2 separate regions of the Homo sapiens genome follow, and region 2 is linked to region 1. The links are contacts of gene promoters, found by promoter capture Hi-C in blood cells and fetal thymus (Javierre and others, 2016). All regions are on one chromosome and are shown on one strand. Each heading gives the region's core, a stretch centred on a gene start or on the middle of the fragment in contact. The rest is flanking DNA. Distances are from core to core; before and after follow the strand shown.

Region 1 (6,353 bases), core at 2,544-5,043:
CTGGTCCCCTCTCTTCTCAATCCAGCAACGTAAGTCCAGTGGCTGAGACGGTCAGGTTTGCACTGGGTTCTAGCCTCTGCTCCTGCCTTGGCCAGCCCACCCCACCCTCTGCCCAGTTCAGCCCACCCCATCCGCTGCCCAGTTCAGCCCACCCCACCCTCTGCCCAGTTCAGCCCACCCCATCTGCTGCCCTGGCCAGCCCACCCCACCCTCTGCCCAGTTCAGCCCACCCCACCCTCTGCCCAGTTCAGCCCACCCCATCCGCTGCCCAGTTCAGCCCACCCCATCCTCTGCCCAGTTCAGCCCACACCACCCACTGCCCAGTTCATCCCACCCCATCCGCTGCCCAGTTCAGCCCACCCCATCCTCTGCCCAGTTCAGCCCACACCACCCGCTGCCCAGTTCAGCCCACCACCCCCGCCCAGTTCAGCCCACCCCATCCTCTGCCTAGTTCAGCCCACCCCATCCGCTGCCCAGTTCAGCCCACCCCACCCTCTGCCCAGTTCAGCCCACCCCATCCGCTGCCCAGTTCAGCCCACCCCATCCTCTGCCCAGTTCAGCCCACACCACCCACTGCCCAGTTCATCCCACCCCATCCGCTGCCCAGTTCAGCCCACCCCATCCTCTGCCCAGTTCAGCCCACACCACCCGCTGCCCAGTTCAGCCCACCACCCCCACCCAGTTCAGCCCACCCCATCCTCTGCCTAGTTCAGCCCACCCCATCCGCTGCCCAGTTCAGCCCACCCCACCCTCTGCCCAGTTCATCCCACCCCATCCGCTGCCCAGTTCAGCCCACCCCATCCTCTGCCCAGTTGTGTCCCAGGGAGTGAAGCCACCTCTCAGAGTCCCAGTCTGCGACTGTAAACCAAGAACGACCATGATAACAATAATCATCATAATACCTCAGTCCCGGCATGGTTAGGGCTATTGTGACTCTCAAATGAGAGAACAGGCATTGGGCCGCAGCAAGAAAATAGAAACAACCTAAATGTCCAACATGAGGGATTGGTTACATGAATCATGCTACTCGGATGTAATGGAAACCCTCTCTGCTATGTTTAAAATTATATTACAGGCTGGGTTCAGTGGCTCATGCCTGTCATCCCAGCACTTTGGGCGGCAGAGGCAGGAGGATTGCTTGAGGCCAGGAGTTTGAAATCAGCCTGGGCAACATGGTAACATCTCATCTCTTCAAAAAATTATAAAAATTACCCAAGCATAGTGGTGCATGCTTGTAGTCTCAACTACTCGAGAGGCTGAGGTGGGAGGACGGCTTGAGACTGGGAGGTCGAGGCTGCAATGAGTGGGTGATTGCTCTACTGCACTCCAGCGTGAGAAGGGGGAGACCTTGTCTCAAAAAAATAGAATAAAAGATAAAATTTTAAACAAAAAGAAAATTTATTATAGATGTGTATTTATGGACAAGATGTTTGCAATATCTTAAGTGAAATATATGAAGTCTCAGAATGCTGCTTTTCCATTTTTAAGGTGTATTTGTACACAGAAAACATAATAGAAGCTTATGTACAAAATATTTGTGGTGGGGTCTGGCACTGTGGCTCACACCTGTAATCCCAGCACTTTGGGAGGCTGAGGCGGGAGCATCACCTGAGATCAAGAGTTCAAGACCAGCCTGGCCAACATGATGAAACCCCGTCTCTACCAAAAATACAAAAATTAGCTGGGCGTGGTGGTGTGCGCCTGTAATCCCAGCTACTCGGGAGGCTGAGGCAGGAGAATCGCTAGAACCCGGGAGGCGGAGGTTGCAGTGAGCCGAGATCGCACTATTGCACTCCAGCCTGGGCAACAAGAGAGAAACTCCATCTCAAAAGAAAAAAATTTGTAGTCATTACCTCTGAAAAATTGAATTGTGGATGATTTTAATTTTTTCCTTCTGCTTAAAAATATATGTTCCACATTTTTAAGTAAGAAACATATCACTTTTGCAGTAAGGTTGAAACCTATTTTATTCTAAATATTGAGATAAACATGTAAAATGCACAGCACAGTTCCACACACACAGTAGGGGCTTACTTGACTCTTTCCTTCCTGGCAGTGATGTTGCAAAGGCCCGAGGGAGCTTGTCTATCCTCTGTGTTAGCTTCTGGAAGAGAAGACAGCTGACAGGTTGAACTAAGAGGCCGTTGTGAACTGGGCACTATGCGACCCTCCCAATTTATACCCACCCTCCCAGTCCAGTGCAAGTCACACTTCCCCCATGAAGCCTTCCTGACTACCCTCTTCTTTTTTTTTTTTTTTTTTTTTTTTTTTTTTTTTTTTTTTTGAGACAGAGTTTCACTCTTGTTTCCCAGGCTGGAGTGCAGTGACGCCATCTCTGCTCACTGCAACCTCTGCCTCCCGGGTTCAAGCGATTCTCCTGCCTCAGCCTCCCGAGTAGTTGGGATTACAGGCGCCTGCCACCACATCTGGCTAATTTTTGTATTTTTAGTAGAGATGGGGTTTCACTGTGTTGGCCAGGCTGGTCTCGAACTCCTGACCTCAGGTGATCCGCCTGCCTCGGCCTCCCAAAGTGCTGGGATTACAGGCGTGAGCCACCGCGCTCGGCCCTTTCTTGGGTCCTCGGATCCCTCTTGTACTGTGTTGAATGTTTGGGCTCTTCCGCTCTGTTTTCTAGTCAGTTGCACCCACCCGACTGAGCCCGTGGTACTGCAGTCTTGCTGTGGTGTCTCTGCAAGCAGCTCTGCACCCCAGCACCTGGCTCGGGGCCAGGCACTGAGAAGGCAGTCAGGCCCTGTGTGCTGAATTGAAGGAATGTGTTTGTGGCTTTCAGTGACTTCGCATCTCAGGCCTTACTCTCATCCTGCTTAGTAGCAGGGGAAAGCACTTTAGCTCCGCCAGTGCCCCCAGCTGGGATCAGATTCTGACGCCATCACCTACTAGCGGTGTGGGCTTGTGCAAATCACTCCAACTCTCTAAGCCTCAGGTTTTCCAGACTTAATTATCACCTCTGCCCTCAGAGTTCAAATTAGCACTCCATTGGATGATAAATAGGCTAAATAAGATAGTAAATAGAAAGCCCTTAACACAGCGCCTGGCACATACTGAATGTTCAATAAAAGGTGGCCCCCTGCAGGTTTATTTCACCACAAACTTTATTATATGAGCCAGCACGCTTCTGGGAAGGAAACCAGGAGCTAGTCATCCTTGGGCCTGAGCTGGGTGCTGTGGCATGCGCTTGTAATCCCAGCTACTCAGCAGGCTGAGTGGGAGGATCGCTTGAAGCCAGGAGTTCAAGACCAGCCTGAGCAACATAACAAGACCCCCATCTCAAAAAACAATAATTATATTAATAAATAATTAATAATATTTAGTATTAATATAGGATTAATAAGTAATTAGTAATACTATTTATTATTATTATGCCAAGATGACAAGTATAAACTAGGCAGAACCAGGCCAACCTGGACATCTGGTCACCCTGCTTATCCTCTACTCACTACCAGCCTTGTAGGCCAGGACTGGCAGATCTTCATCTCACAAACCCCCGCCCCACCTTCCTCCTGCCTCTTCCCAGCAGCGCCCTAGCTGAGCACCTCAGGGACTTCTCCTCCCGGGGCAGGGGCCCCCCAGAACCGCAGCCTGCCTGGAGCTGCGGAATGCTCTGAAACGGGGGAGATCGCAAGTTCCCGTTCCTGCCCCCACGTCCCTGCAGACCCTGGAGCCCTTCAGCGACCCCGGGAGCCTACCGTGAGGGCCGAGCGGGTGGCGCCGGGCTGCCCTGTCTTCCTCAGGAGCAGAGAGGAGTCTGGTGTGGCCTGTGGTCAGCTCAATCCAGCCCCAGCGCTGATCAAAGTTCCAGGCAGTGGTTCCTCCCCTCACGTGGCCCCAGCGTCCCAGAATGTCACCAGGGTCACAGGACGGGAGAGGGCCTTGGCAAGGCCTCTGAAGATTACAAAATGACCCTGAACTCCTCCCATGTACAGAGCCCTGCCGGGGCCAAAATCCCACCGAGGTTGCAGGGTTGGCACCTTCAGGACCCCGAGGACACTCAGAAAGCTCTAGAGATTCCCGCAGGCGGCTGGGTTGGTGAGGCCTGGGATGGGGTCCACGCTCACACCCATACCTGTGAGCAGAGGCAGAGGGACTGGGAGCCTGCCTTCAGCCTCAGGCCCCTGCTGGGCTCTCAGCGCCCGGAGGCATTTCAAGAGGGCTGTGGATTTGTTGTTTTGTCTTGTTGTGTTTGTTTGCTTGTTTAATGAATGAACTTTCTAAACCCTTCCTGAATTAGAAGGGGGAAAAGCTATAGGGAGATGAATTGGGGCCCAATATGGAGAGGAGCGCTCACACACTCAGGGCTGGCCGAGGACGAAAGATGCTGCTTTGGAAGGGAGGGATTTTCCCATCTCCGGAGGTGTGGAACCAGGGCTGCAAGACACACGGAGTGTGTGTGTGCTGAGTGCGTGCATCTGGGGGTGTGCATGTAAGTGGGTGTAAATGTGAGTGGCTGTAGGGGGTGTGTGGTGAGTGCATGTGTGGGGGTGTGTTGTGTGTGTAAGTGGGTGTATGTGTGAGTGGGTGTGTGCGCGCGTGGGTAGGGTGTGTGTGTGGTGAGTGCGTGTGTGGGTGCGTGTGTGGGTGTATGTGTGAGTGGGTGTAGGGGTGTGTGTGGTGAGTGCGTGTGTGGGGGTGTGGTATGTAAAGAGGGTGTATATGTGAGTGGGCGTGTGTATGTGAGTGTAGGAGTGTGTGTGGTGAGAGCACATGTGTGATGTGTGTGTAAGTGGGTGTATGTGTGAGTGGGTGTAAAGGTGTGTGTGGTGAGTGCGTGTGTAAGTGGGTGTAGGGGAGTGTTTGGTGAGTGCATGCGTGTGGGTGTGGGGTGTGTGTGTGTAAATGGGTATATGTGTGAATGGGTGTAGCGGTGTGTGTGGTGAGTGCGTGTGTAAGTGGGTGTATGTGTGAATGGGTATGTAAGTGGGTGTAGGGGAGTGTTTGGTGAGTGCGTGCGTGTGGGTGTGGGGGGTGTGAGTGGGTATATGTGTGAATGGGTGTAGGGGTGTGTGTGGTGAGTGCGTGTGTGTAGGTGTGCAGTGTGTGTAAGTGGGTGTATGTGTGAGTGGGTGTGTGTAAGTGGGTGTAGGGGTGTGTGTGGTATAAGTGGGTGTGTATATGCATGAGTATGTCTCGTGTGTGTAGAATGAGAGTGTGTGAGAAAATGTGTGGTAAGTGGGTGTGAGTGTGCAGTGAGTGGGTGTGTGGGTGTATGTGTGTGGTGAGTGGGTGTGTGTGTGCAGTGTGTGGGTGTGTGGTGTGTGTGGTGAATGGGTGGGTGTGCGTGTGTGCAGTAGGTGTGAGTGTGTTGGGGTATGTGTGTGTGTGGTGTGTGGTGAGTGGGTATGTGTGAGTGTGCACTGAGTGAGTGTGAGTGTGAGGATGTATGTGGGTGTGTGGTGAGAGCGTAGGAGTGGGTGTGTGGAGGCGAGCAGGGTGAAGGGGTGACCTGGACGAGCAGTCTAAGATCGTTTCAATGCCAGGAGTCTACCATTTAAAGTAGACTGATGGCTTTTTCACTCATTGCATGGTATTGATTTTTATCTACGCTTTTTATGAGTACAAATTAATGTTTCTTTTGCACGTGAGCTGATTGCATCAGCCAAACTGCAAAGGTCTAATGGAGTGTGGCAAGGAAGTGTGTTTCAGTGGCGATATGCCACAAATGCACTCTGGCAGAGGACAGCGGGAGCCTCTGGGATGGAGACAGGCGGTGAACAGTGTGCCCAGCTCCCCCTCAGCGGCCCCCGGGCTGGCAAGGGTGGGACAGTGGCTGGGAAAAATGGCTTGCGTGGGGGCACTCACAAGCAGTTCTGGGAAGAGCCTGGCACTGCCCTGTACTCAAGGTTCTCAAGCCATCCACACTCGCCTCCAGCAACACCGTTTGTTCATTGGTCAACGTGGCCTGGTGAACAAGAGAAATTTGGCATTGGACAGATCTAGGTTTGAATTCTGACTCTTCAACTAACTAGTCAGTCCTTAGACAAGTGATTTAATCTCTACAAGTCTCTGCATTCTCGTCTGTGGAATGGGTGTGGCAGAAGGCCTGGGGAGGTAGGAGACAGAGAGAGAGAGTGTGTGTGTAGGGTGAAACATCTGTGGAAGGGGACTTGCATTAAAAATTCCAAGGATCAGCCAAGCGAGGTGGCTCACGCCTGTAATCCCAGCACTTTGGGAGGCCGAGGTGGGTGGAACATGAGATCGGGAGATCGAGACCATCCTGGCCAATATGGTGAAACCTCATCTCTACTAAAAATACAAAAATTAGCTGGGTGTGGTGGCATGTGCCCGTAGTCCCAGCAACTAGGGAGGCTGAGGCAGGAGAATCGCTTGAACCCGGG
Region 2 (6,793 bases), core at 792-3,291, 52 kb after region 1:
CCCTCTGCGAGAAACACCCAAGAATGATCAATAAAAAAAAAAAAAAAAAAAAAAAAGACTTCTATCCTTCAAGACACCATAAAAAAGGGGAAAAGATAAACCACAAACTAAAGATATTTGTAACACCTATAGCTGACAAAGGCTTAATGTCAGAAGATATAAAGAATCATGGGATCCAATCCCCTTTGATGCAGCCTAATGCAGTCAGAGCCCAGTAAAGGCTGGGTTGACTGAAATTACCTTCAAAGTCACGCAGCCCTGGACCACAGGGAAGAGCCACTGCCTCTGCCAGGTATCGCGGGAGGTCTTTCAGTTCCGATCAAGGAATGCAACTCCAGAGCCCTGAACTGCTACACTGGTGACCTGGTAAGTCCGTCATGCATAGGCACATCGAGTGAAAGCCTCCCCGCCCCCTTGCCCATGAAATTGCCAGGGAGCCAACATGACAGACTGGGAAGGCGAGCTGTGAAACAGAGTAAGATGCCGATGGCTCAAATTCCTGTGGCCCTTCTTTAGCCTATTTCCCCAGGAAAACCTCCAGTCAGAATGGCCTCTACATTTTGTCCCTTAGGAAGACACTTTGATTGTCCAGGAAGGGAAAAGTAGGTATGGCAGTTGCAGAGTGGGGGAACACTCTTAGTCCATCCACTGAGCAAGTTGATGAGGTAATGAGAAGTATTTGGAGCAAGGAAGTTGACAGCTCCAGTGCTTCCAAGTCTTAAGATTCTGTATCCATTACCAGGTCAGAAGTCTGCTGTAAAACAGTTACCTGGCTTAAGGGGCTTGGCTATTCAAAAGCAGGTCTGTGCCTGGGTGAGATAAGCCTTTTTCCTCTGAGGGAGACTCAGTGGGCCGGGCACAGCAGGGAGCAACCACACCCCAACTTGGACCACGGACAGTCTCACTCAAGCCCCTAGGACTCCCTGTCCCTTGGCAGTGATACAGCGGAAGGAGAGACATGCAGAACTGTGCCCACACCAGCAGGCTGTGGGGACAGGATCACACATGCCGCACAAACCATAGCGACTGTTAAGAACTTGAGCTAAAGGCAGGCAGGCCCTCACCCCCCGAATTCATCACACCACAGCCAGCCACATATTCCCTAGCAGGGGCTCCGTGTCTCCCGGAGCTGAGCTCCATGGAAACAACTCCCACCCACACACAAAGGTCCTGTCTTCTCTGGGATTTTTACAACCATTTTCTCTCTCCATGGTATTAGCTTTTGGTTTGATTCTCCCAACTATTAATAGATTATAAGTCCCTACTCTTCTATTTCATTTCACCATTGCCCTCAGACCTCCTCGCATTTAACATTTGGCTCTACACTGCATCCGACTGTGGGGTTTCCCCAGGATGCTCACACACATGGCATGATATGCAGAATGTTGTTCTTATTTCCTTCAAAATCCAGTTTTTTTTAAAAAAAAAAAAGAAGGAAATGGGGAAGTATTATTAGGCAGGAAAATAAATCCACAAAGGGCAGTATTCATGTCACTAAAAAGCAAACAAATGAATAAAGACACAGAAAAAAAGTGTTATTTCATTCATTAAAATTTTTATTTTGAATAGCTTCAATCAAAAAAGGTTTCATAAGATTATTTACAATGCTGAATGTACAATTATGAATGTATGCCTTTTTGACAAGAGGGTACCATTCTTGAGCAGCAATACAATTTTAAAAATATAAAGATGCAGTATCATTTCTGATATAAAGTTACTTAAAAAAATCCAAGGTCTTAGGGAATTCACAAATCATAACTAGAAGTAACTTTTATTAATTTAATGTACACATAATTACCAAATTTTAATACATTAAAAATGTGTAAATGCCCACAGACTGTACAAAAATTAACACCCCATTTTGTTAAAAGTTCCCAACCACCTCCCACCATAAATATACAAAAACCTATTTTTAGATATGTCAAAATTGCATGCATGAATATTTTCTAAAGCTTGAATTTTGCTCTTCACTGGATAATGTTATCTATAGCTGTTTCTGTAACAGACTACATAAACATTGATATATTATTTACCATGCCTTTGAAACTGTGCAGGACTTTCATAAACATGGGGAACAAAATAAATAGAGTAAAAACTGCAACAGTTTTGTTTAGATGCAAGTGCAATTGGGAAAGCTTTCGAATTTCAGGATTATAAAACTACTATAAAAGTATTTATTCTGTTGTTGGCTTAGCCACTTGTATTCAAGCATTATTTGCAGCATTGCTTTACAGCAGTTGGTGCTAGAAGATACAAAACATATAGTTACCACTATTTATACTTGAGGGAGAAAAAAAACTTTAAACAACCCTGAGGGAGACACACATTAAAAATCTTGTTATTTATTTAAAAAGTTAAAAAGTTACATATCATTATTTAACAATTACTTTCCCAGACATTTCTGTCCTTTAAGTATGTGCATAAATAAAATTTAAATCAGCAATATTCATCTTAATACATCAAAATAATATATGTACAGATTTTAAAATTTAGGTCTGTATAAACTCAAATAATTTAATGTGAAATTCAGAATCAAAATTACTATGTAATGGTAACCTACGAGAGAAGACTCAGTCTATCTATGGCACTGAGTAGAACCCACACCTGGCTTCACAGGCATTCTTCAAATAACATTCTCAACGTGAATAACCCACCTTGTCTATATTCAAATCTAACTTCCTACAAATGCTTTTCCAGCCACCTAAACACCTCATTCCTTTGAAAACAATATGGACAGAAGAGATATAAAACCCTTACTAACTCTAAATGTTAAAAAAGTGGGGGGGGGGTGTCAAAAATAGCTCTTTATGATCATGCTCTTAAAGATGTTAAATACAATCGGATAATTGAATTTTTAAGCTGCTACTTAGCAATTACTTTCATTATATGCTTCAGTACTTAAACCAAAGAATAAAATGCACAATTGTGGAAATCACTGAAGAATAACACGAGCATATTTGAAATTAATATGGAAATTATAAAATGATCCAGAGAATAAGTAACTATAGAAAATAGTGCTAATTCACAGCTCAAGAGGTCTAAGATGCATAGCTTCATAGAATCATTCATGGAACAACTGTTATCATCTAATGTGTATTAATAGCATATTATACATTTGATGGAAAACTTCGATTATATTTTTGCAGGAATCATCAGTGGCAATAGCAGTAACAGTGATCCTGAGTGTAATTTCTATTTTTCTATAGTTACCAAACATCATCCAGGTCTTTGCAGCATAAAGAGTGAGAACCATTTGGTCCTAAAATTCTAGGTAAAATTTGGTAAATTTGTAAATATATGTTGGGAAAAGAATGATCAGCTAGAAGTAGAAAGCACGAGCAAGCATGTTACTGGCTCTGGAAGAACAGAGAACAATGTCACACTGTTTTCATAGTTTAGCGTCCATTTTATAGCACGATCAGTTTTCTGTGTTGTGGTAACTGTGGGCGTTGCCAGACTGCTGGATCCACCTATAAAAGGTGTTTTTTAAAAGTTACCTTAATTTTGGCAAGAATTTAAATGTTAATCAGGCCAAACAGAAAGGTGAAAAATGTTTCTCCACATCTCTTTTGGCTCAATGAATGTCAATTTTTTAACTTTATTTCCTCAATTTTTTTTCTCCCAGAAATTTCCGCATCAAATATGCTCATTTGTAACGATCCAATTCAAAATAGACATGTTCTGACCTCTGGCGCCACCTAATGGCATAAAACAAACTCATCAAATTCATATTGCTTTGAAAAAACGGCAGCCATTCAAATCCAGTATTTTTTAAGCCTCATTATTGATAAGACAGAGACATACATCAAACCTCAAAAAATTTTATGAGGTAAAATTCTAACTTAAAAAAAACTATTATCCTATGTCTTTAGGTAATTGAAAACATAGAAGAAAATTTTAAAAAACCATTTAAAATAACACAAAGCCTGACAGAAACAAATTTGAAGAAACGTTAAAAGATGAATCTACATCTACTGCCGAAAGAAATGAATCTTATTTCCTAGTGAAAAAGGTTCTACAACATTTAACAGAAGCAAATTAGACTGCCAACACCACACATAGCACAGGAGCCATTTAAGAGCTTTGAGAGGCGTCTCAAGAAGGCAGTGAAGCACCTTGCTGATTAGAAAAATAAAACCCAGGCAGTTTGTACAGAAAATATAAAACCAGAAATGGAGATTACCTGAGTTGTTCTATAAGCAACACCATAAACACTCATTCCTAACTCTAGACCATCATAGGGAATTGGCATATGTTTATACAGAATTCTTTGGAAGAAACATTGGAATCAAATGAAAACAGGCTTTCAGTATATTTTCACTGGAGGCTAATTAACACTCATCTTCTTTTTATCAATCACAAACTTACAGCCTGTATATAAACACAGACTTTTCTAACAAGAGGGTTGTGAGCATAAATGTGAAGAGGTAAACTAGTCTCAAAAACTAATGTTGAAAAACCTACCAAACACCAAACTTCTCCTGTACCCAATATAAAGAATATCACTGAAAGTAACAATCAAGAAAATTCTGGAAATGTATGTAATATTTGGGTTGCTGAATGAAGATATAGGACTTTATGGATTGATTGTTAATTTAACTGTTAGGACGATATATTTTTCTGTTTTTATTTTAAGGAAGAGCAAAGCTGTCAAATAAGCTACTATATCAGAAGGGACATAAACTGAACTAGTGCCATTCTGACACACAGGATCAGAAACTCCTAAAATCACATATTCCTGAATACTGCTATCAGCAATACCACTGAGACTGATTCACTGCTATGTTATGGTGATGATTTGACATGATCCATTCTCCTTAACTAAAGCTTTAGCTTCTGTGGTTGTCTGAGGTTTTGGTGGCCATTCTGGATCAACCAAGAGCTCCTGCGCCAGATACATGTACTTTGCCTTTGGTGTCTTCTTTCTACAGCCCAGGGCCCAGGGTAAGCAGCATTTTCCCCACCGATCCACTGACTCCTAAGAAAATAAGAAAAAAACAAAACAAAACACCCCAGTTGATTAAAGGCTTGTCGTTTTAAACAGGTTTGTTAAAGCACACATTAGCAGAGAAAAATAAGAGGAAATGACTTCTGAGCACAACGAATGGGGGAAAAAAAAATCCATGTTAAAAAAAGGCAGCTTTGGCCGGGCGTGGTGGCTCATGTCCGAAATCCCAGCATCTTGGGAGGTCGAGGTGGGAGGACTGCTTGAGCCCAGGAGTTCGAGACCAGCCTGGGCAACACAACGAAATGTGTGTTCTTTTGTTTTATTTTGTAAGGGCAGCTTTCAATTATTTAGGAACTGATTATTCTTTAGATTATATTTTTTTTGGGGGGATAATCAATATGATTGACTTCATTTAGTTTTATATACCTATACTCTTGTGTACTAATACCTTTTAAATAACTTGCAGATATGGATTCTTTACCACAGAATATCTAATGTATTAAGAACTTTAAGCCATTCAGAAAGAGAAAACATTTTTAATATTTAATTTGAAAATCTTCACATTCTGTCCCAAACTATCTTTTGGTACTATTGCTCCTGGCAACTTAGCCGCATGATCATTTTTGGAAGAAAGCTGTGTACAAGTATCCTTGTTACTGTTAATATCATCTCTCAAAACATGAAGTAAATATCGTTTGGTCAAAATTAGGGCTTCAATCATGTTTAATGTCAATTACGTCTTTTAAAACCTCATCCTTACTAATATAAAAAACAATACTGTTTTATAATGATGGTTTCCGTCGGTGCTCCACGACTGGAAAGGGGTATAAAACAAGTACTATTGCTTAGTATTATTTCATTGCAAAAAGCTCTGCTGTCACTGAAATCCTTCTGATCAATCCTGATGTTTTTAGTGAATTTGGCCTTAGATAAATGATCCTTGGAGAACAAGAAAGCAGAGTCCCTGGTTAATGCATAGAAATGTAAACTCAATAGAGGGCTGAAAAGGGCCCTCAGAATTTGTCTCAATTGAAATTTGAAATAAATATAAATGACTACACCAGGACTCGTAGTAGTTATATTTACTTCTAAAGAACAGCCACTTCGTAATGATTTTGGCTGTTGCTTCTCCAAAATGAAATTTAAATTCCAGGTCATTTTGTTTTGCCAATCAACATATAAACCAGGCTACAACTAGCTCTAAATGCAGTAATCTCACAAGGTAGAGTAGAACATAACTGAGCTACATATTCTAATGTTACCCAAAATGCCTCATGATTTAAAAAGGCAAGTTAGCTATAGATGTATTTTGAAACATGTTTCTAAATTGGCCAATGGAGAAGAGCAAAAATACTTTAAAATTAAAGCTCTTAAAGCTTTTTCATATTAACTTGGTAGCTCTTTCTCATCCAGTTGAAACAACCATCAGGAACCTACCACTCTCTCCCTCTCCTCCCTGGCCCCGCTGAGAGCACGGTAAACGTGACTCACCGCTCTCAATGTTAAAGGTCTGCTAGCTTAAGCCTGTCAACAAAACACAATCAGCTGCACTGCTACCAAGAATTTAAAGGCAAAAAAGGTGGACAAAAGTAAGCTACGTGGCATTCTGGGGTGGGGACGGGGAAAGTCTGAAGATTACTCGCCTAGTAGCCTTTTTACTGTCATAACTAAAGAGAGTTATATCAGCATCACCTTAAAAAAAAAGTCCACAGGAAAATATTTAGCATTAAGGTACAGAAGTCACTATGTATAGGATTCTTCAAGTGATCCAAAATAACAGATAATGCCTTTCCAGTATAGGCACACAACAAACGTAATATTTCATCTGAGATGACAGTTTACTAC

Evidence for each region. Contacts are between HindIII fragments. The CHiCAGO score rates a contact against its expected background, and 5 or more counts as called.
Region 2: a fragment that was not itself captured here is called in contact with the fragment with the promoter of CPN2 in region 1 in 2 of 17 cell types (megakaryocytes and naive CD4 T cells); the score reaches 6.0 in megakaryocytes.

The regions. Positions count from the first base shown.
Region 1 is chr3:194,347,535-194,353,887 of GRCh38, forward strand. It overlaps CPN2 (carboxypeptidase N subunit 2), which reads right to left and starts at 3,794. Exons shown (of 2, transcript NM_001080513.4): 1 at 3,708-3,794. RefSeq lists an enhancer at 3,270-4,119. The HindIII fragment of the contact is 6,903 bases long and covers 1,518-6,353 here.
Region 2 is chr3:194,401,139-194,407,931 of GRCh38, forward strand. ATP13A3 (ATPase 13A3) reads right to left here. Exons shown (of 34, transcript NM_001367549.1): 34 at 1,539-4,978. The coding sequence ends at 4,781. Among named protein-coding and RNA genes, the nearest start is that of GP5, 5.3 kb to the left of the region's middle. RefSeq lists an enhancer at 1-64. The HindIII fragment of the contact is 183 bases long and covers 1,951-2,133 here.